Regions from separate parts of the Homo sapiens genome. Here regions 2, 3, 4, 5, 6 and 7 are each linked to region 1. Evidence: promoter capture Hi-C in 16 types of primary human blood cells and fetal thymus (Javierre and others, 2016). All regions are on one chromosome and are shown on one strand. Each heading gives the region's core, a stretch centred on a gene start or on the middle of the fragment in contact. The rest is flanking DNA. Distances are from core to core; before and after follow the strand shown.

Region 1 (3,443 bases), core at 264-2,763:
TCAAACGACTGATTTTTATACATGAGATAATAGACAAGCCTTGGGTGACCTGTTTTTTTTTTTCTTCCCTCCCCCTCTTTTTCCCTTGCGGTAAAATAGTGCTGAAGAAAGAGGGCACTAGTGTACAGCCCAGATCGCATCCTTGCACCGTCTGGATTAGAGCTGAGGCGTCTGCAAGCCGAGCGTGGCCACGGTCCTCTGGCCCCGGGACCATAGCGCTGTCTACCCCGACTCAGGTACTCAGGTATGTCTCAAGTCCATGTCCTCCAAACAGACTCAGGTGAGCGGACACTTCCTCCGGTGAAACCCACCCACAACGGCAGACAAAGTCCCAGTCTATCAGATTTTCCTCCGGGTCCCAGGCGCATTCTCGCTTATGTATTTCTTTTCGTCCTGTATCCTCAGGAAGAGTCGGGACCAATGGGTGCCTGGGTTTTCTTTCTCCTTTTTCTGCCTCACCTCCTGTGCTCTCCTCGCCCGCTCCCATAGCCCCCTTTTCGTCGACTCTCACCTTGAGAAAAGGAGCAGGGGAGGAACGGGAGAGGGAGCCAACTTCAGCCCCGCAGGCGGCTGAGATTTGGCGCCTCTGTCCCCAAGCGGGTGGGTTTGGATATATACCTGCACAAGCGGTGCAAGGTGATGAGAATGAGGGCGGAGGGGCGGTGGGGACTCGAGTGGAAGGGAGTGTGTGTGTGTGTGTGTGTGTGTGTGTGTGTGTGTGTGTGTGTGTATGGGTAAAGAACTCAGAGGAGGGAGGTTGAAAGAGCAAAGCGGGTCAGGGAATTGCAACTCACTGGTCAAAGCGTCCCTTGCAGGCCCTGCCAGGGAATGTCTGGCTGGACCGAGCACTGTCCAGGGTCCTGAAGGCGGCAGGGCTCAGGCTGCCGCGGCGAGAGCAACCCGGAAGCTCCCCTCCGTTCCCTTTCTAGCAACTATGCAAACCCCAAAGCAAGCGCAGGACCCCCCCTAACCCGTCCACCCACCGCGGGAAACAAGTTACCTTATCTGCACCCCTTCTTCTTGAACATACACAGCAAGCCTGACTTCTTACGGGGGAAACATACCAAACTCCTCCATACGGAGACTTTACCAGGCGTTGCCTTAGTAACTAATGTGGATTTTCTTCAAGCTGGCAAATTTATATTTACAGCTGATTTTATGTCAGGGCTTCTTCAACCCCTCAAAATTAAAGTAAAAGGTGCATCCTTTGTTTACGTTTATTTTAAAGTCGCGCTTCCACCTTTACAATGAGTTTCCAAATTTTCTTCTGAAAAAAAGTTGATCTTTTCCAATCCGGAAAGTTCTCTTGGGTTGAAGGACCTAGCTCCTCCCCTCCTCTCTGCTCACCTTCCCCACCGCCCTCCAAGTTAGAAAGCATGATAGGTTTTAGGGGACCAGGAAACGACTTAAGGTTGGAGGAGCGGGCGAGTTGGCGGGGCTCTGCGCCGCCTGGACCCGTGAGGACAGAGGGGGCAGGACACCCCGCCTTCCTCAGTGACCACAGCTGCGCTCCAAGCTGTTCCTGCAGCCGATATCAGGATGTGCCGAAATGAAACGGACAAGGCAACTGTTAACATTATAGACCCCAGAGTTTTAACACAGGTCCTCTGATGACAAGGTTGTGATTTTTCTCTGTCTTTTGTCAGCAGCATCTAGCTCACCGCTGCCAACACGACTTCCACTGTACTCTTGATCAATTTACCTTGATGCACTACCGGTGAAGAACGGGGACTCGAATTCCCTTACAAACGCCTCCAGCTTGTAGAGGCGGTCGTGGAGGACCCAGAGGAGGAGACGAAGGGGAAGGAGGCGGTGGTGGAGGAGGCAAAGGCCTTGGACGACCATTGTTGGCGAGGGGCACCACTCCGGGAGAGGCGGCGCTGGGCGTCTTGGGGGTGCGCGCCGGGAGCCTGCAGCGGGACCAGCGTGGGAACGCGGCTGGCAGGCTGTGGACCTCGTCCTCACCACCATGGTCGGGCTCCTTTTGTTTTTTTTCCCAGCGATCTTTTTGGAGGTGTCCCTTCTCCCCAGAAGCCCCGGCAGGAAAGTGTTGCTGGCAGGAGCGTCGTCTCAGCGCTCGGTGGCCAGAATGGACGGAGATGTCATCATTGGAGCCCTCTTCTCAGTCCATCACCAGCCTCCGGCCGAGAAAGTGCCCGAGAGGAAGTGTGGGGAGATCAGGGAGCAGTATGGCATCCAGAGGGTGGAGGCCATGTTCCACACGTTGGATAAGATCAACGCGGACCCGGTCCTCCTGCCCAACATCACCCTGGGCAGTGAGATCCGGGACTCCTGCTGGCACTCTTCCGTGGCTCTGGAACAGAGCATTGAGTTCATTAGGGACTCTCTGATTTCCATTCGAGATGAGAAGGATGGGATCAACCGGTGTCTGCCTGACGGCCAGTCCCTCCCCCCAGGCAGGACTAAGAAGCCCATTGCGGGAGTGATCGGTCCCGGCTCCAGCTCTGTAGCCATTCAAGTGCAGAACCTGCTCCAGCTCTTCGACATCCCCCAGATCGCTTATTCAGCCACAAGCATCGACCTGAGTGACAAAACTTTGTACAAATACTTCCTGAGGGTTGTCCCTTCTGACACTTTGCAGGCAAGGGCCATGCTTGACATAGTCAAACGTTACAATTGGACCTATGTCTCTGCAGTCCACACGGAAGGTAGGCATTATATTTGGGAAAGAAGGGTACTGAGAAAGTCAGGGCAATGCATGATGTGCTCCTGGGATCATAGTATTGTTCCTGTTTATTTCTAGCACTGTGGGGAACGGAGTTTACCCTTCTCAGTACTGCCCACCCAGGCATTGCCTTTTATCCTCATTTCCTTACAATTATAGTGTAGGAAAATTGTACCCCATAGAATATCTGAGGATAATAGGAGCTGAAAGGGTATCAAACTTTCCATGCAAAGTGTCCAGCAGTAGATTTGACTTGAATACTTGTTTGCCCTCATATTTTGAGTTTGCGTTTGGAAGGCTTATTTGTCCAAGGTGTTATATTGCCCTTCAGTGACTGGCTATGACTTTCCAGGTGTAATGAGTTAATTCAGTGTGAGTGATTGGCAAAAAGAAGTTACTATTCCACAAATAGGACTTCAAAGCTTTATCTTTCTTTAACAGTTGAAGATTTTCTTTGTCCTCTTGTACCCCTTCTTACATATCCAAAACTTTCCTGTGAATGTAGGATTAATGCAGTCATCTCCCTCAGTATATCAGAAACTTATATTTTTACTTCTGGAGTACCTTAGTTACAAAGAAAAAGTAAGTAATTTAAATAATGTATTTTCTTCTTACTTTATAGGCTAAAATCATCCAGATTCCCTCACTCCCCCAAGAATTATCTTGTTTTATGAGAAATAACACTGGTGACCACTTGGATTTGAGTTTTGGTTTCTAGTCTTTTTTCTTCTAACACAATGAACTTACATATTAGAAT
Region 2 (3,443 bases), core at 701-3,200, 770 kb after region 1:
AGTCACTATATGAAAAAGACACTTACACACACATGTTTATAGCAGCACAATTTGCAATTGCAAAATACAGAACCAGTCCATCAACCAACCCATCAACCAACCAGCCCATCAACCAAAAAGTAGATAAAGAAAATGTGGTATATATATATACATATATACACACACACACGTATACATATATACATATATACACACACACTGTGGAATACTACTCAGCCATAAAAGGAAATGAAATAATGGCATTCACAGCAACCTGGATGCAGTTGGAGACCACATTCAAAGTGAACTAACCCAGGAATGAAAAATGAAACATTGTATGTTCTCACTTATAAGTGGGAGCTAAGCTATGAGAACACAAAGGCATAAGAATGATACAGTGGACTTGGGGACTAGGGGAAGGATAAGAGGAAGGTGAGGGCTAAAAGACTACACATCGGGTACAATGTACACAGCTGAAGTAATGGGTGCACCAAAATCTCAGAAATCACCACTAAAGAATTTATCCATGTAAACAAGCATTATATCCTGTTCCCAAAAAACCTATTGATAATACATAAATAAATAAATAAACAAATAAGTAAATAGTTGGAGATTCAGCAGTGAAAAAAAAAAAGTTGGATAGAAAGTAATAAAGTAGGCCTAAAGAAAGAAGGAATAAAAAAATTTTAATGAGACAGAAAACAAAGGAAATAAAGAAAATTCATAGAAATTAAGGCAAATTTAAACACATTCACAATAAACAAGCACTTGTTTGTGCTTACTTGATAATTTGTTTCCAGATGATCTGCCTTAAAACAAATACAAAAGGAAGTCCTTCAGGCTGAAAGAAGGTGACATCCAAAGGGAATTCACATTCACAAAGAAAGGTAATTATGTAGGTAAATTTTAGAAGACAACGTAAATAGATTTTTCCATTTGTTTACTTATTTAACAATTATTATAAAACTATATTGTTGGGCTTATAATGTACAAACATATATAAAAATAATGCACGAACAGTGGGAGAAAGAACAAAGAAAGAAACTCACAACAAACTGGTAATACAAGCGGATTTCCTCAGACCGATAAAGGCTAGTTATGAAAAACCTACGGTAAACATCATACTTAAAGGTGAACAACTGAATAATTTTAGCCTAAGGTCAAGAACAAGGCAGGATGTCTACTGTAACCACTTACATTCCACATTTTAATGGAGGTTCTTGCTAGTTCAATCAAGAAAGAGAAATAAAACACATCAATCTTAGAAACGAAGAAGTAAAACTGTATTCTCCGACAACACTCTCCTATATGCTAAACTTCTAAAAAACAGAAAAAAAAAAAACTGTGAATAAGTGAGTTTGGCAGGGTCACATGATGTAAGATTAGTAAACAAATCATTTTTATTTCTACATATTGATGAACAATCAAAATTGAAATTAAGACAGTTTTATTCACAACAGCATCAATAATAAATACACGGAAATAAATTTAACCAAGTGTAGAATTTATGTATTGAAAACTACAAAACATCACCAAAGGAAATTTTAAATTATCTAAATATAGAGATCATTTATGTTTTGGACTATAAGACCTATTGTTCAGATAGTAATACCCCTCAAATTGATCTATAAATTCAGTATAATCTCTATCAAAATCACAGTAGACATTTTACAGAATTTGACATGCTAATCCCAAAACTTATATGGAAATGCAAAAAAAAAAAAAAAAAAAAACAGAAAAGCCAAAATAATTTTGAAAAAGAAGATCCAAGTGGGAGGGGAACTTACTCATCCTGATAAAGACTCTACAAAAAAACCTATGGCCTACATTTTATTAATGGCGAGGAATTAGCAGCTTTCCCACTAAAATCAGGAGCAAGCCAAAGATGTCCTCTCTTACCACTCTTTTTCAACATGTACAAGACTCCTAGAAAATACAGTCAGACAAGGAAATGAACTAAAAAGATACACTAACTGGGAAGAAAGAAAGAAAACTCCTGACCAACGTGATGAAACTGTCTCTACTAAAAATACAAAAATTAGCTTGGCGTGGTGGCACGTGCCTGTAATCCCAGCTACTTGGGAGGCTGAAGCAGGAGAATCGCTTGAACCAGGGAGGCGGAAGTTGCAGTGAGCCAAGATCGCGCCACTGCACTCCAGTCTAGCAACAGAGCAAGACTCTGGGGGGAGAAAAAAAAAAAAAAAAAAGGAAGGAAGGAAGGAATGCAGGCAGGCAGGGAGGGAGAGAGGGAGAGAGGGAGGAAGGGAAGAAAGGGAGGGAGGGAGGGAGACTGTATTTGTTTGCAGATAGTGTGATTTTGAATATATGTACCACTCTGGTAGGGGATGTTAATAATGGGGGAGGCTACAATGTGTGTGTAGGAGGAAGGGGGATATGGGATATCTCTGTATGTACTTCCTCTCAATTTTACTGTGAAACGTAAAACTGTTTCTTTTGTTGTTGTTGTTGTTGTTGTTTTCTGAGACAGAGTCTCACTCTGTCGCCCAGGCTGGAGTGCAATGGTGCGATCTTGGCTCACTGCAACTTCTGCCGCCCGGGTTCAAGCGATTCTCCTGCCTCAGCCTCCCGAGTAGCTGGGATTACAGGCAGCTGCCACTGTGCCCAGCTAATTTTTGTATTTTTTGTAGAGATGGGGTTTCACCATCTTGGTCGGGCTGGTCTTGAACTCCTGACCTCGTGATCCACCCGCCTTGGCCTCCCAAAGTGTTGGGATTACAGGCGTGAGCCACCGCGCCCGGCCCTAAAACTGCTCTTAAAAATAAACTTTTTTCTTTTTTTTTAAATGAACCAAGCAGGGAGATTTTTACTATGTAATTTCAAAATTGGTCATAAAGTTAAAAATAATGATCAAAACACCGTGGTTTGACACTTTCTTTGAAAGTTGAAGAATTTTACCATATGACCCAGTAATCCACTCCTACTTACATAAAATGTCCAGGAAAGACAAATCTGTAGAGACATAAGTAGATTAATGATTGCCCGGAGTTTGTGGTGAGAACACAAAGTGACTATTATAGGACACAAGAGAGATCTTATTTGGATGATGAAAATGTTTTAAAACTGGATTTTGTTGATGGTCACACAACTTGGTAAATTTACTAAGAAGTATTGAATTAGAACCTTAAAATGGTTGAATTTTATATGTGTAAATTATACTTCAGTAGCTTTTTTTTAAAAAAAAAGCAGTGGTCTGGAAATGCTGAAAAGTTAATATCCTAGACTCAAGTCTTTTAAATCTGTTCTTGTGGGCTCGATACTGTTCTATGGATTAAAAAGCTGCTGCTAATTTGATTTTCAGTGTTTATCTTTTATATATTGCCTACTCCACTGGACTACAAGTTTATTGAAGGTAAAATACTGTTTTCAGTATTTCAGTATAAATATGTAAAAAAAATCTATTTATATCCCAAGCCCGGTAGTACTTAGTGTAGCATTTGGGCAAA
Region 3 (3,443 bases), core at 329-2,828, 740 kb after region 1:
GTAAGCACATTTTGTCTAGTTAATAAAAATTACTAATTGATTATACTTTTGAACATTTCAAAAATGTATGACATTTTTCTATTTATAAAATTATATTTGCCCATATTTTTTGAGAATATATAGCATTAAATACAAGCTTTTAAAATATTTCACAAATTCTTCAATTCCAGAAGAATAATTTTCTAGTGAAAGAGTACTCTGGTTTATTTTTTCAAAATATAAACTACTCTAGTATTCCTGGCCAGGAAGCTTGTTGCTTTCAAAAAAGAGAATCAAAGGGAAATCTCCAACAGCTTTATATCCCATTGGGCAATCTAATAATTGAATCTGAAAGAATGTGTATTTTCTATTTATGTTCTCTTTCAAATTTAAGCTAGATTGCCTAATCATAAAATAATATATGCATGTTATTTTTAAAATAAAATAAACCCATGCAATACAAAAGGGTATAACATAAAATGTAAAAGCCTCCATTTCTTCCTGGGTCCCATTAACCTGAGTTCAAACACTTGATGGTAGCCACCACCGAAGTGGGCTTTGTCATCATTCAGAATTTTTAGTATACATACAACACGCTTATGATAAGACGTAAACTCTTAGTCCTTTTCGTCCTCTAAGAAACAGTAAATTTTATCTATTATTTATATTCCTCTATTAGAATGCAAGCCCCTGAAGAATGAGGAGTTTTGTCCATTTTCACCTGTTTCGTCCCTTGCATTATCCCTAGTTAGATCCCATATGAACAGTAAGCACCCCACAATATTAGCTGAATGAGTAAATGGAAGGATACATGTAAGCTATTCCTATTATTATTACCCTTATTTATTAATTGCCAACAACTCTGTTCAGGCGTTTGCTTGCTTCTATTATCTGCCTGGACCTGATCAAGAAAGAGCTTAAAAAGGTTTGTGTGTACAGAAGTTAAGAGAAAACTGTTATTGCCAGGCTTACTTTATTAGAAGGTATAGATTCTAGTATGTGTCTTAAAATTCAAAGAAAAGCTATAAAAATGTATGACACCAAGAGTTCCCATTTCCACTCAAATGTATTGAGTGTGCTTCCATAGCAACGCATCACACTGCCGAAATTCCAACGGCATCGCACTGTGCGGCCTCTTCTGAGGTTCCTCTCTCATTGGGCAGGGATGTGTTCTTCCTCGGTCTCATCATTGCATCTCTAGCACTAGTGGGAGATGTCAATAAGTGTTTAATGAATGAATGCATGAACATGCCACACCAGTGACCTCAGGTATGTGTAAATCCTAATGGCATCCTGGCCTGCTGTGTGGGCAAGATTCTGAGGCTGTGTTCAGGCTCAACGAGAAAGTTTTGTGATGTTTTATCAATATTCCACGTAGACACAGGAAGAGAAAGTGGTAGCACTGGGGCCACAGAGTCGCCGCCTCTTTGCTGTTCGTGTGTGGTATGTGGATAACTCCAGAGCAGACAATGGGGTGTTCAAACCTTGTTTTTTGAACGAGTGGCTGTGCTACTGCTCCATAGTGTTATACATAAAAACACTTTCGCACATTCCCTGGATAGTCATGGAATATGAATTTTGCCAAAACATCTGCCCATTCTACTTCAACCTCCCCTCCTAAAGCCAACACCCCTAACAGCCCAGCACACTGAGAATGTCTGAAACAGCAGACAAGGCTTCGATCTCATATTCTTGCCTACTAGAAGAGAACACAATTATTCTGTGAGTAAATGTCATATGAAAGCCGCAAATACCTTGCAGGCCACGTCTCAAGCCGAATACGCCCGAATACGCCTGTTGATTCCCTTGTTGTGGTTGCACAGGCGGTTGGCTTTGGCAATCACTTCCTTGCAGCTTGTTCCCGGATGCTGTGTTTCCGGCCCAGTTCCCTTCTCTGGGTCTTCAGCTGTGAAGGTTTCCTGGACCCACCTAATGTTGCCTAACCCTGTGTTATGGATTATCTACTGCTGTGAATTTGAGCCCTTTGATTATTTTGCAGTTGACCACCCACACCCACCAAGTTCTAATGGAAAATAAATGAAAAAAAAAAATCAGTTGTTTATGTTTATTTCTCTTTGCATGTTACCATATTCTCTTTCTCTATATGTTTTTCCCGTCAGGTTGCCACTTTTGTTCTCGCTTAAAGTAACCATTACCCTATTCCTACTTCCCCTGTGGTTCAAAGCAAAATCTCTTAGCTCATACCGTGCCCCCGCCCCTGGCCCCTGGCCCCCACCATTCTCTGTCTTCTTTTTCTCTATCAATTAACAGAAACCTGTTTGAAATAATGGATGGTACAAATCATGTGGTAATTTTGTGTTCCCCTACTGCAAAGAAGTAGATAGAGTATATGCCTAATACCAGTGGAATTAAATATTTTATGCTAAAGATTTAAGTGCAAATAAAATATTCACAATTATAGAAATCAAAGAATAAAGAAACAGCACAGTTTTGTATGAGCTTGTGTGTTCACCAAAGCTATTCTCATTTCCACTTTGTTCTTCAAGTTATAGGACTGGTAGATTTTACATTACATTTCTGAGGATTAAGAATTTCAATGGATCAGAGAATGACAGCCAGTTCTGATTTGTTTTGTTTTGCTTTTTGTTTTGGACAGTGTGGGCTTTTTCATGAGTTGCCTGTAACTCTTTATAATTCTGATTTCTGTATTATAATAGCGTGTTATACCTGTCTCAATAAGCTCAAAATAGTCATGCTACTGTTGTTTATAGCAATTATAAATTATAAACCCAGATCCATATGACAGAAAACAAATAATCTCATCATAAATCATAAAAGGAAAACTACAGAGCAACCTTGCTGAATTCAATTGAAGATCTTGCTCACAAGGAAAACCTGTTTCTGAATAATGTTTAAATGAGATTCATAAAAATGTGCAATCATGAAGAGGTATTTGTGAAAAAATTTTAAGCTTTTCAGGGAAAAATAGCATCACATAGTACAATGCTATTGACTAGAATTGCTTTCTCCCAATTCTCTAAAGTAAACTAATGTCTAATATGGTGCAAAAGAAAAATATCTCAATACTATTAAATTTAGTTAAATATATATATTATATTTATTATATATATATATCACACAGCTGGTTGCTGGCACAGCTGGGAATTCTAATGGAAATTAAATTCCATCAAGGGCATTTGAATGGGGAAAATAATAATATACAGTAGTACTGGTTTCACGTCTTTATTTGTGTCTCTGATAGAGGGCTGTATTATGGTTTTTTCCTATATTAATATGTAATTATATAATATATATTATATATTATATTTATATCATATGAAATATATTTGCCTAAATTTATTTATTATATATAAAACAATATATACATAATTTAAATACCTGTGTATATTTTCTGTGATAACTAGAAATTTGGTTTCAGTACTTATATGTTGAGTGTGTTATGTAAAATTTTGTAAATTTGGGATATTTAGAAAAAAAAATGA
Region 4 (3,443 bases), core at 603-3,102, 720 kb after region 1:
TTAAATTTGATATTATCAAATTGTAACTTAAGCTTAAATTATTTTTATTTTGCATTAAATTTGGCAAATTTAACATTTACATTTTATAAGCAAATCTGATAAACATCAGTATTTTTGTGCAGTTATCTATATTTGGAATTATACACCTAAGCATAATTTTTAAAAACTCACTTGATTAAAGTCAATGCATCAATATATTATTTTTACTTATTGTTTTTGTTAATTACCTTGAAAGGGCATTTACATATCACTTAAAAACAGAATACTTTGCTAATAAAAATTCAATTCCTGTACATCAGACATGTATTTACAAACTTTATTTGACCCACACAATTTCCTTTTATACTATATTTATTCTTCCCCATGTTCTAATAAATGATATCTCTAAACCAAGCTTGTCCAACCTGCGGCCCATAGGCTGCGTGCTGCCCAGGGTGACTTTAAATATATCCCAACACAAATTCGTAAACTTTCTTAAAACACTATGAGATATTTTTGTGATTCTTTTTTTTTTAAGCTTCTGAGTTTAGTTAGTGTTAGTGCATTTTATGCATGGCCCAAGACAATTCTTCCACTGTGGCCCAGGGAAGCCAAATATTGGAAACCCCTCCTCTAAACCTGACCTTTCTGCAGCAGAATGCCTTGGGTTAAACCAAACTACAGAGCTAGTTCTTCACGAACAAATTTGTCCACACACCAGTAGATGATTTTTTGAATGTTTGTTTTTAAAGTTTGAGTTAGACTTCCTTTTGAATAGAAACAGTTTATTTAATTTGTGATTAGAATTCAAAAGTCACAAAGATTAAGAGGAAGAAGATGATTTAATTTAAAGGGAGACTATCAAGGTTATAGATGTCATCAAATTCTAGCAATGAATTTTGTATTACTAGATAAATATACTAATGCTAGTCTTGAATACTTCATTTTGGAAGAGACCTTTAAAGAATATTTGGTTGAACCAAGTACGAATCTGATTATTATTTACATCTAGCATACCTCCTTGGGTTGGGATGGGTTTGGTTTTTGTTTTAGAAACTCCATTGTAGACATCCCTCTCTAGATTAAACTTGAATTTTTCGGATAGTTCTAAGTGATACATTTTGAGTCAACGTTCAGAAGAACATTCCAGCTCCACTTAACTATTATTTTTAAGTTGTAAATTGAGATTGCAGCAAACATACTTCCTGTCTCATATTTTATCTCTTCTGCCCTCTCACTCTAGCCAGCTCTGTTTAGAAAAAAAGTTAAGGCCGGGCGCAGTGGCTCATGCCCATAATCCCAGCACTTTGGTAGGCCAAGGTGGGTGGGTCATCTGAGGTCAGGAGATCGAGACCAGCCTGGCCAACACGGCAAAAGCCTGTCTCTACTAATAATACAAAAATTAGCCAGGCGTGGTGGCGTGCGCCTGTAGTCCCAGCTACTAGGGAGGCTGAGGCAGGAGAATCACTTGAACCCAGAAGACAGAGGTTGCAGTGAGCCGTGATCACGCCACTGCTTTCCAGCCTGGGTGACAAGAGCGAAACTCCATCTCCAAAAAGAAAAAAGTTAAAAGTGGAGAAATGCGGAGGAGTATGTCAAGCTGTGTGAATAGAAAAAGAGCTTAATTGGACCCTTTTGTGCTGCAGTTTTCCTCTCTTCATAATTCTTGATCTTTGAACATTTATCCAAACAACCTTTGTCCCTGCTAAAATGTGGTTCCCAGAACTGAATGCTGCCTCTGAAAGTAATTCTGACCCACAAAACATAAAGAGGTTCATTGCTCCATTGTTTTGTACCCTGTGATTGCATCAGTCTTTGGGTACCTACAAGGCATGTTGATATGGTGGACTCAAGAGACACCTCAAGAGAGAACATCTTTGGCCGACTAGATAATGTCTAAAACTGTATTGAGCAGTTGTATAACTTAGCAATCTTAGGTGGGAATTTTGTGGCTAATTCTGCCCAGCAGGCTCATCCAGAGGCATCCTGACCCATACGAAATTCACCAGAGGCCTTGACATATGCCTGCCCGAAATTCATAAACACCATGTATGCAACTTTTACCTGATGTTGTGTCTTCTAATCTTATGAAAAAAGTAAATAAGTTTTGTTTCCAATAAACTCATGCTGGCTTTAAGAATAGGTTTTATCTTTGAGGTTCACATGAGACATGCTTTTTATGAGCTGCGGCAGAACTTTGATAAGCACTATTATTAAACTTACTAATCTGTGGTTTGCAGAGTATATATTCTTCTTAAGTTTGAAAAATCAGAATTGTTTGCTCTATTTTTTTTCATAAATACTCAAGACCATACACTGTAATTCAGAATACTAGTCTGTGGGATTCCTCGATACTCAGTACTCGATTATATAAATGTTTTACTACTGAATCCATTTAGAATAGCCAAGTTCTGTCCTATAATCCTATCACTGATTTAGCTTTGGATTTTCACTTACCAATATCTAATCCCACCATTTAATAACTTTTTCCTTTATAATCATTCTGAGTCTGAGCAAAAACAAAATAATTTTGCTTTGCCTCTTTAATTCAGTAGTACAATGAACTCAAATAATAATAAAAATATCAATACATATGTGCATTACCCTTTGCCAGTAAAAATGCTTTATTATACATTTTTTTTACTTGCCCCAAACATGATGTCATAAAGTCCTTACTGGTGTTGCAATTCTCATCTCATTATGGGGACTGGAATTCCAGCTAATATTTCTAGATGTGTATGAAACTTTTAAAAAATTCATTCTGGCTTATATATATCTAATTTTTACTTCTGGAAATCTAAACATACCAGAGAGCTATTTGTGGGCAGAGTACAGCTGGAAGACAAATCTATCTTTTTATTCTTTATTAGGGGCATCTGGAATTATAATCTCAGAATTACTTTGAACATTTGCATCTATTATGATATCATGCTTTTGATTCACTGACTTTTTAGTCAGCTATCCAATTATGTTAAACCAAGCTCTTCCCCATCATAAAGTAAGCCATTCCCAGGCTCTTGAGCTGCTCCTTTTCTGCAATCTAAAGAGCTCATCCTCAATCACACATCTGGGTTCTGTGGAATCAAATCAGCTATTAATTTTACAGTTTTACCTGTCATGTCAACAGAATACATTTCTTTGAACTCTTCTGCTTTTCTTACTTCAGTATTCCAGAAAGATAGATCTGGGTTACAGGAAAATCAAGTAAGAAGCTTTTGGGCTACTCTGGGATGGTGCAATGATAAAAATCTGCCATGGGAGGCATTAGAAGAATTAGAAGAGGACATAGTAATCATCTATTGTAGTTAAGCACTTTATTTTATAGTTAAGGAACCACACAAAGGAAAATATCAGAGTTTATTATTTTCCTGAAAACTTTGTAGGATAGTGCTTTCTAAGAGAAATTCCAAACATAATCCTAGTGATTCTATGTTTATTAAGAGATCTTGGGACCTGTAGGTATA
Region 5 (3,443 bases), core at 359-2,858, 690 kb after region 1:
GCTCTTTTTACCCCCTCATCTTACTTTCCTGGAAAAACTTCACTATTGGTTAAACTTGATGCATATCCAACCCACAGTTTCAAGAGAGCAGCTGAATGTGATTGGAGGGGAGAAAAACAAACACACTGGCTAGCCCTGCTTACATTTGAGGAGCACAAATCTCAACAAGGCCTTAGGCACTGCCAGTATTTCTGTCATTCTTTTATTCTCCCACTCTTATTTATTCCTGTAGATGACCTATTGCAAACCCTCAAACATTCTCTCTCTCTTCAAATCTTCAACACCTACTCTTACTCTCACTCATGTTCAGATGATGACCTTGCTGCTGATCTCACTGAATAGACAGAAGAAATCAGAAAGGATTTCTGCTTTCAGAATTTGTACCTCCCTTTCCCACAATGAACTTTCTCAAAATCTAGGCCACCTTCCTTCTGTTCTAATGGATAGACAATCTCTGCTCCTCTACAAGGCCAAACCCTTGCATACACACGCACACACAGGCACACACTCACAAAACTTCATTCTTTTATTCTTTGGCCTGTTTTGTTAAAGAATTTTTCTTCAGCTCAAATTAACAGTACATGGCACTGTAAATGTACAATAAGTATTTCCCAAATGCTTAATACTGAATGTTTTGTCAACATGCAGGGCAGGGATTTTTTTTAAACTGAAATATCGTCAATGTTTTGAATGGTGTCTAACATAGAGCAGGTGGCTAGAAAATACTTGTTGTATAATAAACTTTCCAAAATTTAGTGATCTAAATTTAGTGCATCTACCAAACCAAAAGCCCTGAAGCCACACCATGTCCCAGAACATTTAAATTCTATAGGCATGAAGGCATTTCAGGTAATGTTGTGACCTTATGTCCTCAACTCCAGTGTTTTCTGGAAATAGGGGGGAAATTATTTTGCCCTCAGTCATTGATGAACAATTAGCCTATATTATTTATCCATTTTTAATAAAAAACTTGATATTAAATTTAAACTTTGTTAATTGCTTGCTATTTCTACATAATGTCAAAGACTGAATCAAAGATAAAAATTTTGATAAACAGGTTGGGCATGGTGGCTCACTCCTGTAATCCCAGCACTTTGGGAGGTTGAGGCGGGCAGATCACCTGAGGTCAGGAGTTCGAGACCAGCCTGGGCCAACATGGTGAAACCCTGTCTCTACTAAAAATACAAAAATTAGCCAGGGGTGGTGGCAGATGCCTGTAATCCCCGGTACTCCAGAGACTGAGGCAGGAGAATTGCTTGAACCCAGGAGGTGGAGGTTGCAGTAAACCGAGATCGCACCACTGCACTTCAGCTTGGGTAACAGAGTGAGAACCCGTCTTTAAAAAATAAATAATTTTTTTGATAAACAGTGGGATATTTGGATTTATTTTTTACACTATTTTAGAGAAATCTCTTATTTTTCAAGATGTAATATGTTTTCTTCCTTTAAAATTGTATCTAGAAGGATATTGTAGTTATTACCATAGAGATAATAAAAGCGATGCTATACTACAATGAAAAATGTCCTCCTGATTCTAATTTTCCTATTCCTGGTTTCTTCACTTGAGAGGATTGTTACAAGGAAGAATATTGAACAGGGAGGAAGACCTAAGTGTTATTTCTAGTAATTTACCTGGAGTAATTTCTAATGTTTTATGAACATTTTAGTAATATTTCTAATGCTTGATTATTGTTATTTATGTTGTTACTTAATAAAAAAAGACAGTACTAGTGAATGCCAACTACACTTTCATGATCAAACTTTAATACCTTTTTACTTATCTTAAAGCCTTAACAAAAGACAGTCCTCCCATAGAGCCTGGACTTCTCACAGCTGAAACGTTTTCTTGGAAATCCCTGAAACCAGGCAGTCTTGTTCTGAAGATTCACACATATGCTACCAAGGCTACAGTGGTTCGTCTGCCTGTTGGGTATGAAGTGGCTTCATTTTTCCCATAATAAAAATTGTTTGAAGGCTTGCAAATTGTTGGTTACTAAAGAAGTAAACAATATGGACTCTAAGACATTGTTTCTCAAAGCAATTTCTCAAGGCATAGGTCCATGATTATTATTCTTGAGAAAAATATTTCCAAAAAACTACATTGAGAAATACTGTACAATGAATATCCCTTTGGGAGATTCATAATTGTCAAAGATTCTGGGAATATATTTAGTCAACAATACTGCTTGAGCTTGTTTAACCCAGCATTTTCTAAAATTAATTTATAAATATTATACACATAACATTTATAATACTTTAGTATGAATTTTCTCATAAATATTTCTTATAAGTTTTCTCACCAATATAATACTTAGCAAAAACCTTGATTTTATTTAAATGCAAATTGAGAAATATGCATTTTCCCCTACCAATCTAGATTTTCTTGTGGCTTATTTTTGTTAGATATTATTTTTAATTCAGATAAAGCTGGTTAAACACATTAGTTTCAATTTTAAAGAAAATACATATAATGGAAAAGATTTTATTTTGATGAATAAAATTCAAAATATTACCTCAAATTTCAGAAGAAATATTTTCACTAGGCTTTGAAATAAACATTTTCACTAGCTTTTACTTTTTTCCCAAGATCAATCATGCTAATTCTATGTGATCAATGAAAAGCTATGTCTCTTATGCAAAAAGCAAAGCCTCAGCAACAAATGCTAAAATAATTGTGTCAAGCATCTAGTACTTCTACAAAATACTACATTTTGAAACTCTGACATTTCTCACATCTCCCCTTTATACTCCAGCAAATCAAATTACTCTGTCTGAGTGCTTATTCATTTGAGACAACCAAGGACAAGGAATTTAATAAAGATTCTTCTTATATCCGCTTTTCCCCCCACAGAACCTAAACCATCAACATGTATGTTTTGAACATGCTCTAAATCTGCAGTCCCCAACTCCAGAGCCATGGACTGGTCCTGGTCCGAGGCCTGTTAGGAACTGGGCCATGCAGCAGGAGGTTAGCGGTGCCTGAGCTCTGCCTCCTGTCAGATCAGCAGCAGCATTAGAGTCTCATAGGAGCGGGAATCCTATTGTGAACTGCATATGCAAGGGATCCAGGTTGGACACTCCTTATAAGAATCTAATGCCTGATGATCTGAGGTGGAACAGTTTCATCCTGAAACCATCCCCAAACCAAGTCCATGGAAATATTGTCTTTTGTGAAACCAGTCCTTGGTGCCAAAAAGAATGGGGATGGCTGCTCTAAATGCTCAATAACTGGAGGACCATGAATATCCCTGCTCTCACGATACGACAACCTGGTAGAGGAGACACGATTAACATACATGAAATGATGCATTTGTGAGAAAAAGACTAGGAAGTCTACACAGCCCTATACCTGCTTGAGTTTTTCTTGTTGTTAGGGAGAAATCAAGACTAGTCTTCACACCATGACTGCAGTGTGTGGGAGGTCACTCCAGCATGTACTGCAG
Region 6 (3,443 bases), core at 483-2,982, 670 kb after region 1:
TATGATGTTTGCTAATGTGGTGGGTATAAAATGGTATTTTATTTTTTATTATAAATGCATAATGTATTGACATATTAACCCATATATGCCTGAGGTTGCTATTTTTGGAATTTGAAAAATCAGACCTTGGCAATGACCTTGAACAGTAGGATGCTGAGCTTTCCAATGTAAAACAAATGTAAAGAAATCTTGCCTCCATTTATGTACCTCTCTATCCCATTTTCACCATTCTGCCCTCCGTAGGAAACTTTCAGGATTTTTTAATGTAAATGCAAAGAAACACACACACAATATTTCACAACTTCCTTTTTTTCTACTCAAAATTAAATAATCTTAAAAATACTTAATATATGCTGGAGATAATTCCAATCTACACCTAAAGAGTATCTTCATTCTTAAAGCTTCATAATTTTTTATTATGTAAATGAACTGTAGTTTATTTCTATCAATCTCTATAGATGAAATCTTGGGTTGATTTTAATCTTTTGCTATTATAAATACTACTGCTATGAATGAATTTGTACATGTAGTTGGATTGTTTGGCCAACAAATACAATTCTATTGGAATTTTAAAATAATTATTGCTAAATATACACGATAAGATTACACCCAGGTTGTATGAATATTTCCTTATAGCCACATGGAGTGTGTAGGGATTTTTTAAAAATTTTGCCAATCAGATTGGTAAGAAAAAGTAGTTCATTTTGCTTTTCCATTGAACTGGTTGTTATTGTGACTGAACAGCTTTGTATACATTTACTGCCATTTCTGTTTGTGCTGCTGTGCAATGCCTGCTTATGTCTTTTGCCTAATTTCCATTTGGGTTGTATGTTCCTATTTTACCAATTCATAGATGTTCTTTGTGAAATATGGAGACTTATTCTTTATTAGATATGTATTTCATATGTTCTAAGTTTATCTTTTCAATCTTGTCTTTTTAAAATTTATTTTTAATCGATAAAAAATATATGCATTTATAGTGTAAAACATGATGTTTTGAAATATATATATAGCTGAATAACTAAATTGAGCTGATTAATATATGTATTACTTCACGTTCCTTTCATTTTTTGTTGTGAGAACACTAAAATCTTCTGTCTTATCAATTTTCAAGAATACATTAACTATAGACCCCGTGTTGCAAATCAGATCTCTTGAATTTATCTCTACTAACTGAAACTTTGTATCCTTTGACCAGTATTTTCCCAATCACCCACATCTAGCCCCTGGTAACTACCATTCTACTTAGTATCTATTTTTCTGTGTGTGGCTTATTTAACTTCACATAAGGTCCTCCAGGTTTATCCTAGTTATTGCAAATGATAAAGTTTCCTTCTTTTTAAAGGCTGAATAGTATTCTATTTTGTATATATACCATATTTTCCTTATCCATTCATCTGTGGATGGACAATTAGTTTGATTTCATATTTTGGCTTTGTGAATAATGCTATAATGAAGATGGGAAGGCAGGTATCTCTTTCTTCTTTGACACACTGATTTCATTTCCTTTGGATACACACTCAGAAGGAGGATTGCTGGATCACATGATTGCCCTATTTTTAGTTTTTTTTTTTCAACCTCCATACTGTTTTCTACAGTGGCTGCACCATTCTACCTTCTCACCAGCAATATACAAGGTTTCCCTTATTTCCACATTCTTACTAACACTTATTTTTGTATTCTCGATAACAGCCATTTTAACAGGTGTGAAGTGATATCTCACTGTGGTCTTAATTTATGTTCCTCTGATGATTAGTGATGTTGAGCATTTTTTAAAACACATACGTTGGCCATTTGTATGTCTTCTCCTGAGAAATGCCTATTCAGATTCTTCGCTCATTTTTCAATTGGGTTGTTTCCTTGATGATGAGTTGTTTGAGTTCCTTATATGTTTTGAATATTAACCTCTTATCAGATGTATGATTTACAAATATTTTCTCCCATTCTATAGATTGTCTCCTTATAATTGCTTCCTTTTCTGTGCAAAAAAAAAAAAATTTAGTTTGATGTAATTCCTTCTGTCTGTTTGCAATTGTTGCCTGTGCTTTAGGGATTATTTCTTAAAACTTGTTGCCCAGGCCAAGTTCTTGGAGCTTATCCCTTATGTTTTCTTCTAATAGTTTCATACATTCAGCATACATTCAGGTCTTAAAGTTAAGTTCTTAATGCATTTTGAGTTAATTTTTGTATATGGTATGAGGTGACATTCCTCTTTTGTAAATGGATATCCCAAAATCATTTACTGAAGAGACTCTCCTTTCTTCCATTGTGTGTTCTTGTCAATCTTTTTCGACCATAATAGTTTGAATTTATTTTTGACTCTCTACTCTGTTCCATTGGTCTATTTTTATGGTGATATATGCTGTTTGGGTTACTATAGCTTTGTAGTGTATTTTGAAGTCAGGTAGTGTGATGCCTCCTGCTTTGTTCTTTTGCTTTAGCTATTTAGGGTCTTTTGTGGTTTCACATGGATTTTAGGATGTTTTTAATATATCTGTCTAAAATCTCATCAGAATGTTGGTAGATTACATTGAATCTGTACATTGCTTTGGCTAGTATGTGAAAAATCTCATCAGAATGTTGATAGATTACATTGAATCTGTACATTGCTTTGGCTAGTACAGCCATTTTAACAATATGAATTCTTTCAGTTCATGAACATGGGACATCTTTCCATTTATTTGAGTCTTATTTTATTTCATCAATGTTTTATTTTATAGTATTCAGAATATAGGTACCTCCTTAGTTCAATTTATTCCTAAATATGTTTTGGTAGCTATTGTAAATGGAATTATTTTACTGATTTCTATTTTTGTTTTTTGTATGTTGATTTTGTATCCTGAAACTTTATTGAGTTTATATATTAGATCTAACAGGATTTTTAATGGGGTTTTAAGGGGTTCTATATATGATTGTATTATCTGAAAAGAGGAAAAATTTAGCTTCTTTCTTTCCAATTTGAGTGCCTTTTCTTTATTTTGCCTAATTGCTCTAGCTAGGACTTTAGGTGATATGTTGAATAGAAGTGGTTATTTTCCTTGTCTTACTCCTGATCTTAGAAGTAAAGCTTTCAACTTTTCACTGTTGAGTATGTTAGCTATGAGTTTGTCATATATGGCCTTTGTTGTGTTGAAGTACATTCTTTATATTAGTTGTAAGTTGAGAGGTTTTTTAATCATAAAAGGATGTTGAATTTTGTGAAATGCTGTTTTTCCATCTATTCACATGATTGCATGGTTTTTATCTTTTATTCTTTTAATGTGGTATATCATACTTGTAGATTTGCATATGTCAAACCATCCTTGCATCTCTGGGAAAACTCCCACTTAATCATGGTAAATGATCTTTTTAATGTGCTGTTGAATTATGTTTACTAGTATTTTGTTAAGGATTTTTGCATGTATGTTCATCAGCGATATTGACCTAAGGTTTATTTTCTTATA
Region 7 (3,443 bases), core at 528-3,027, 650 kb after region 1:
ATGTTTTCTCTCCTCTCGATATCTATGAATACTAATATTTTAAACTGTAAAACTTATTGAAAACTTTTTTCTCTAAATAACTACATTGAAAATGTAGCTTAAAAAGAAACCTTGATGCAAATAATGACATTAATTACAAATACCGAAGTTCTATAAGAATGAATAAATCATACCCTTCCAATATTTGAGAAAAAATGATTATGAGAAATATTAGAGATTTGAGTTTTGCCAGTAACTTATTAACTATAGGGTAAGTTAGAATTTGTGTAGTACTCTAGTATAGAGTTCAGTATCATAGTAACTTTAAAAAATTGTTTCAAAAAAGCAAAAATCAATAACATTAGAATATGACTCAGTGGAATAGTAAGTTGGATATTTTCTGACTGTGAGAAAAACTGCTAGCTTTTCACAATTTCCTCCTCTTTCTAGGAACACAGTTTTGCTATATTTTCCCAGCCTCTTTTAAGTGAGATGTGGCCTTCTGTATAATTTCTAGCCCACAGGATGTGAAGCAAAGCGATACATACCAGCTGTAGACTGACCTATACCGTGCTCTCAATTACAATTCCCTTTTTGCTAGCTCAATGCTGTTGAGAGCACAGTGTTAAAGATGGCAAAGCCACAAGGATGGACAGAGCAGGAGTATGTGAATCACTACCTGGAGATCTGCCTGCTGGTCAAGAAGGTTCATTTTGTACTTTATATGAACAAAAAGAAACTATATCATGTTTAAGTCATTTTTTAGTGTGTTCCTTATAGCAGCTACAATTACCTCATGATAAATTAACTCCTGCCAGAAGTTGAGTACTAATAACAAGGTGAAAATATGTGGTGTCTGCTTAACAGTAGAGTAGAAGGCAGTGAATAAATGGTATCTCAAGCTTGAGGAAACCTGGAGATCTCCCTCATACAGCAAAATATTTGGTAAAACTGGAACCTGCGACAATTTAGAAGTTAGCCATGTACTCAGTGAACCTGAGTCTCTAAAATAAGTGGTTGAAAATCTGCTATTCTAGGCAGTGTTAAGTTTGTAATATCTACTGTTAGCAAGATATTTCAAATAAGAAATGAGTTCAGGGAAGAATTGTCTGTTTTTCCAAAATAAATGGGAAAAATAGAGAAATTTCTGAGATCACAGAACATACAAAATTGAAAAAGAAGGCTATTTCTTTACCACAATTAATTGGAGATAAGGCTGGTGTTGAAGAGAGCCATGCTCCTCCCTTTTTATGCCTCCTATACTCTAGCATGTGAATTCTAAAGTTCTATACCAGTGGGAAGTAAAAGAGCTTGGAGGATTGCAGGTGCAAGGTGTTTGAAGTAAAAACAAGCTGTACTGTTTATCACTTCTGGTCTCATTCTATTGAAGACAATTCAATTTCATGGCCATACCTAAGTATTTAACAACAAAAGTCCAGGATATATTTTGGATATTTGTCCTCGCCCAAACTTCATGTTGAATTGTAATCCCCAGTGCTGGAGGTGGAGCCTGGTGGGAGTGGACCTGAAGGCAGATCCCTCATGGCTTGGTGCTGTCTTCATGACAGTAAGTTCTTGCAAGATCTGGTCGTTTAAAACTGTGTAACATCTCTCCCTACTCTCTTGCTTGCTCCCATTCTCACCATGTGAGACATCTGCTCCCTCTTTTGCCTTCTGCCATGAGTAAAAGCCCCCTGAGGCCTCCCCAGAAACAGATACCAGATCTAGGCTTCCTGTACACCCTGCAGAACCATGAGCCAATTAAACCTCTTTTCTTTATAAATTATCCAGTCTCAGGTATCTCTTTATAGCCATGCAAGTATGGCCTAATACAGTCCAGTAAAACTTAAACAACACACCTGGTTGTGTCAAAGATTAAGACTGCAACCTCTTTGTTGCAGCTATCTTCAAAGTGGCCTCTATGAAGCAAAGAAGCAAAGAAGTAAATTAGCCTTGGGAATTACACTCAAGAAAGAATATGGACATGTGGAACTGATGAAAGAAATAGATTAGAAGCCCACTAATATATATTATTTTAAAACTTGTATTAAGAAATTATGGACTTGGTATAAAAAGTCTTTTACTTTTCAGCTTTGCATCAAATATTGGACCTGCAAACATTGTCTGGTAGGAAGTGGGCCGGAACACATTCGAGTCATTATCCTCTTTAGATATTGCCACATAGAATCATAGACAATAAAAAATTGCCAGAAAGACCAGGGACTACTTTACACTTCACACTTCTTAATTGTGTAGTGGACATGTTACTTAACCTATCCGTAACTCAGTTTACTTGCCTGAAAAATACTGTTAAAAATAGAATTTATTTCATAGGGTTTATGTGAACTGACTCATATGAAATACCTAGGCCTTAGCACAGAGTAGGCATTCACTGAAAGTTAGCTATTCTAAATTAACTAAATATCACATCTGAAAAAAATCATATATAATCTTTAACAAATACTTCTTATGGATTTATAGTAATTTGGGGTTCATCTCACTGGGACTCAAAATTTCAGGCTGAAATTTTTATAGGTTCAGACAGTAAATGTCTAACATAAAATGAAATCAATGATAAAAGTGGTATTTAAGTAATCTTACGTATTTTATAGCAGTCTTCTGAAATATGCTTATAGAAAGCAAAAAAAGCTGTATCACATGTAAAATAAAACATTTAAATCATACAAATGTAGCAAAAGCTTCTTTTGAGCAATAAAATACATATAATTAGTATGGCAGTTGTAGGCCATATAAGACTCATAATTACTGTACAAAATATTTTAAGGCAGTTTTAGAGACTAGGATGTTAAATTTCATTTCATCATTCAAGAGTATATTTTTTCTTAAATTTCTTTCTCAATTATTAAGCATTATTATATGCAGCTGTGCTAATTCAATACAAAGTTACTCCAACAACTGGAAAGATAAGGAAATTTCATGGTCTGTACCATTCATAGTTCACTGAAAGAAATTATAGAGCCCCTAGATTTAAACATTTGCCTTTAAGATATTCTAAAAGCAGTTTTATTGATATATAATAAAATCAAAATGCATTATGGGTGTTCCAATATTGCAGAATCACACAACATATTTACAGAGAGATAATAGAACAAATAGGAATTATCTAAGGCCCTTTAGACCCTTTACAAATAATTCTTATATTTTCTTGGCTAATAAACTTTTTTGAAAATCTTATGAAAATTTTGAACCTTCTCTCTTTTTTTTCCAAATCCTTTGTAGTCTTGGTTGAATGTGTCTTCTGGAGTCCATGTGCTAGAATTTTGATCCCCAATGCAACCATATTGGGAGGTGGGGCCTAATGAGAGGTAATTAGGCCATGAGGACAGAGGGAATGGATTAATGCCATTATCATGGGAGTGGTTAGGTATCCCAGGTGTGGGTTTGTTATAAAAGGGTGAGTTTGGCTATGGGATGACATGCTTATTTGGCCAGGGGATGACACA

The links. Contacts are between HindIII fragments. The CHiCAGO score rates a contact against its expected background, and 5 or more counts as called.
Region 2: a fragment that was not itself captured here is called in contact with the fragment with the promoter of GRM1 in region 1 in 1 of 17 cell types (M2 macrophages); the score reaches 5.7 in M2 macrophages.
Region 3: a fragment that was not itself captured here is called in contact with the fragment with the promoter of GRM1 in region 1 in 3 of 17 cell types (M0 macrophages, endothelial precursors and M1 macrophages); the score reaches 7.3 in M0 macrophages.
Region 4: a fragment that was not itself captured here is called in contact with the fragment with the promoter of GRM1 in region 1 in 5 of 17 cell types (M0 macrophages, M2 macrophages, endothelial precursors and 2 more); the score reaches 9.2 in M0 macrophages.
Region 5: a contact is called between a fragment that was not itself captured here and the fragment with the promoter of GRM1 in region 1, in 2 of 17 cell types (M2 macrophages and M0 macrophages). The highest score is 7.4, in M2 macrophages.
Region 6: a contact is called between a fragment that was not itself captured here and the fragment with the promoter of GRM1 in region 1, in 7 of 17 cell types (M2 macrophages, M0 macrophages, endothelial precursors and 4 more). The highest score is 18.1, in M2 macrophages.
Region 7: a fragment that was not itself captured here is called in contact with the fragment with the promoter of GRM1 in region 1 in 1 of 17 cell types (endothelial precursors); the score reaches 8.6 in endothelial precursors.

The regions. Positions count from the first base shown.
Region 1 is chr6:146,027,549-146,030,991 of GRCh38, forward strand. GRM1 (glutamate metabotropic receptor 1) reads left to right here and starts at 1,514. Exons shown (of 8, transcript NM_001278064.2): 1 at 1,514-2,669. The coding sequence starts at 1,970. RefSeq lists enhancers at 1,332-1,832, 1,833-2,333. The HindIII fragment of the contact is 3,742 bases long and covers 1-3,106 here.
Region 2 is chr6:146,797,368-146,800,810 of GRCh38, forward strand. All of the region lies in intron 33 of ADGB (androglobin), which reads left to right. Among named protein-coding and RNA genes, the nearest start is that of ADGB, 200 kb to the left of the region's middle. The HindIII fragment of the contact is 4,906 bases long and covers 1-3,443 here.
Region 3 is chr6:146,769,362-146,772,804 of GRCh38, forward strand. All of the region lies in intron 29 of ADGB (androglobin), which reads left to right. LOC105378040 (a long non-coding RNA gene) reads right to left here and starts at 1,792. Exons shown (of 4, transcript XR_943093.2): 1 at 1,734-1,792. The HindIII fragment of the contact is 2,662 bases long and covers 248-2,909 here.
Region 4 is chr6:146,742,384-146,745,826 of GRCh38, forward strand. All of the region lies in intron 25 of ADGB (androglobin), which reads left to right. All of the region lies in intron 1 of LOC105378040 (a long non-coding RNA gene), which reads right to left. Among named protein-coding and RNA genes, the nearest start is that of ADGB, 150 kb to the left of the region's middle. The HindIII fragment of the contact is 2,674 bases long and covers 516-3,189 here.
Region 5 is chr6:146,722,398-146,725,840 of GRCh38, forward strand. It overlaps ADGB (androglobin), which reads left to right. Exons shown (of 36, transcript NM_024694.4): 18 at 1,789-1,930. Among named protein-coding and RNA genes, the nearest start is that of ADGB, 130 kb to the left of the region's middle. The HindIII fragment of the contact is 9,478 bases long and covers 1-3,443 here.
Region 6 is chr6:146,702,305-146,705,747 of GRCh38, forward strand. The region is part of intron 13 of ADGB (androglobin); the gene reads left to right. Among named protein-coding and RNA genes, the nearest start is that of ADGB, 110 kb to the left of the region's middle. The HindIII fragment of the contact is 2,666 bases long and covers 400-3,065 here.
Region 7 is chr6:146,679,681-146,683,123 of GRCh38, forward strand. All of the region lies in intron 9 of ADGB (androglobin), which reads left to right. Among named protein-coding and RNA genes, the nearest start is that of ADGB, 82 kb to the left of the region's middle. The HindIII fragment of the contact is 1,797 bases long and covers 880-2,676 here.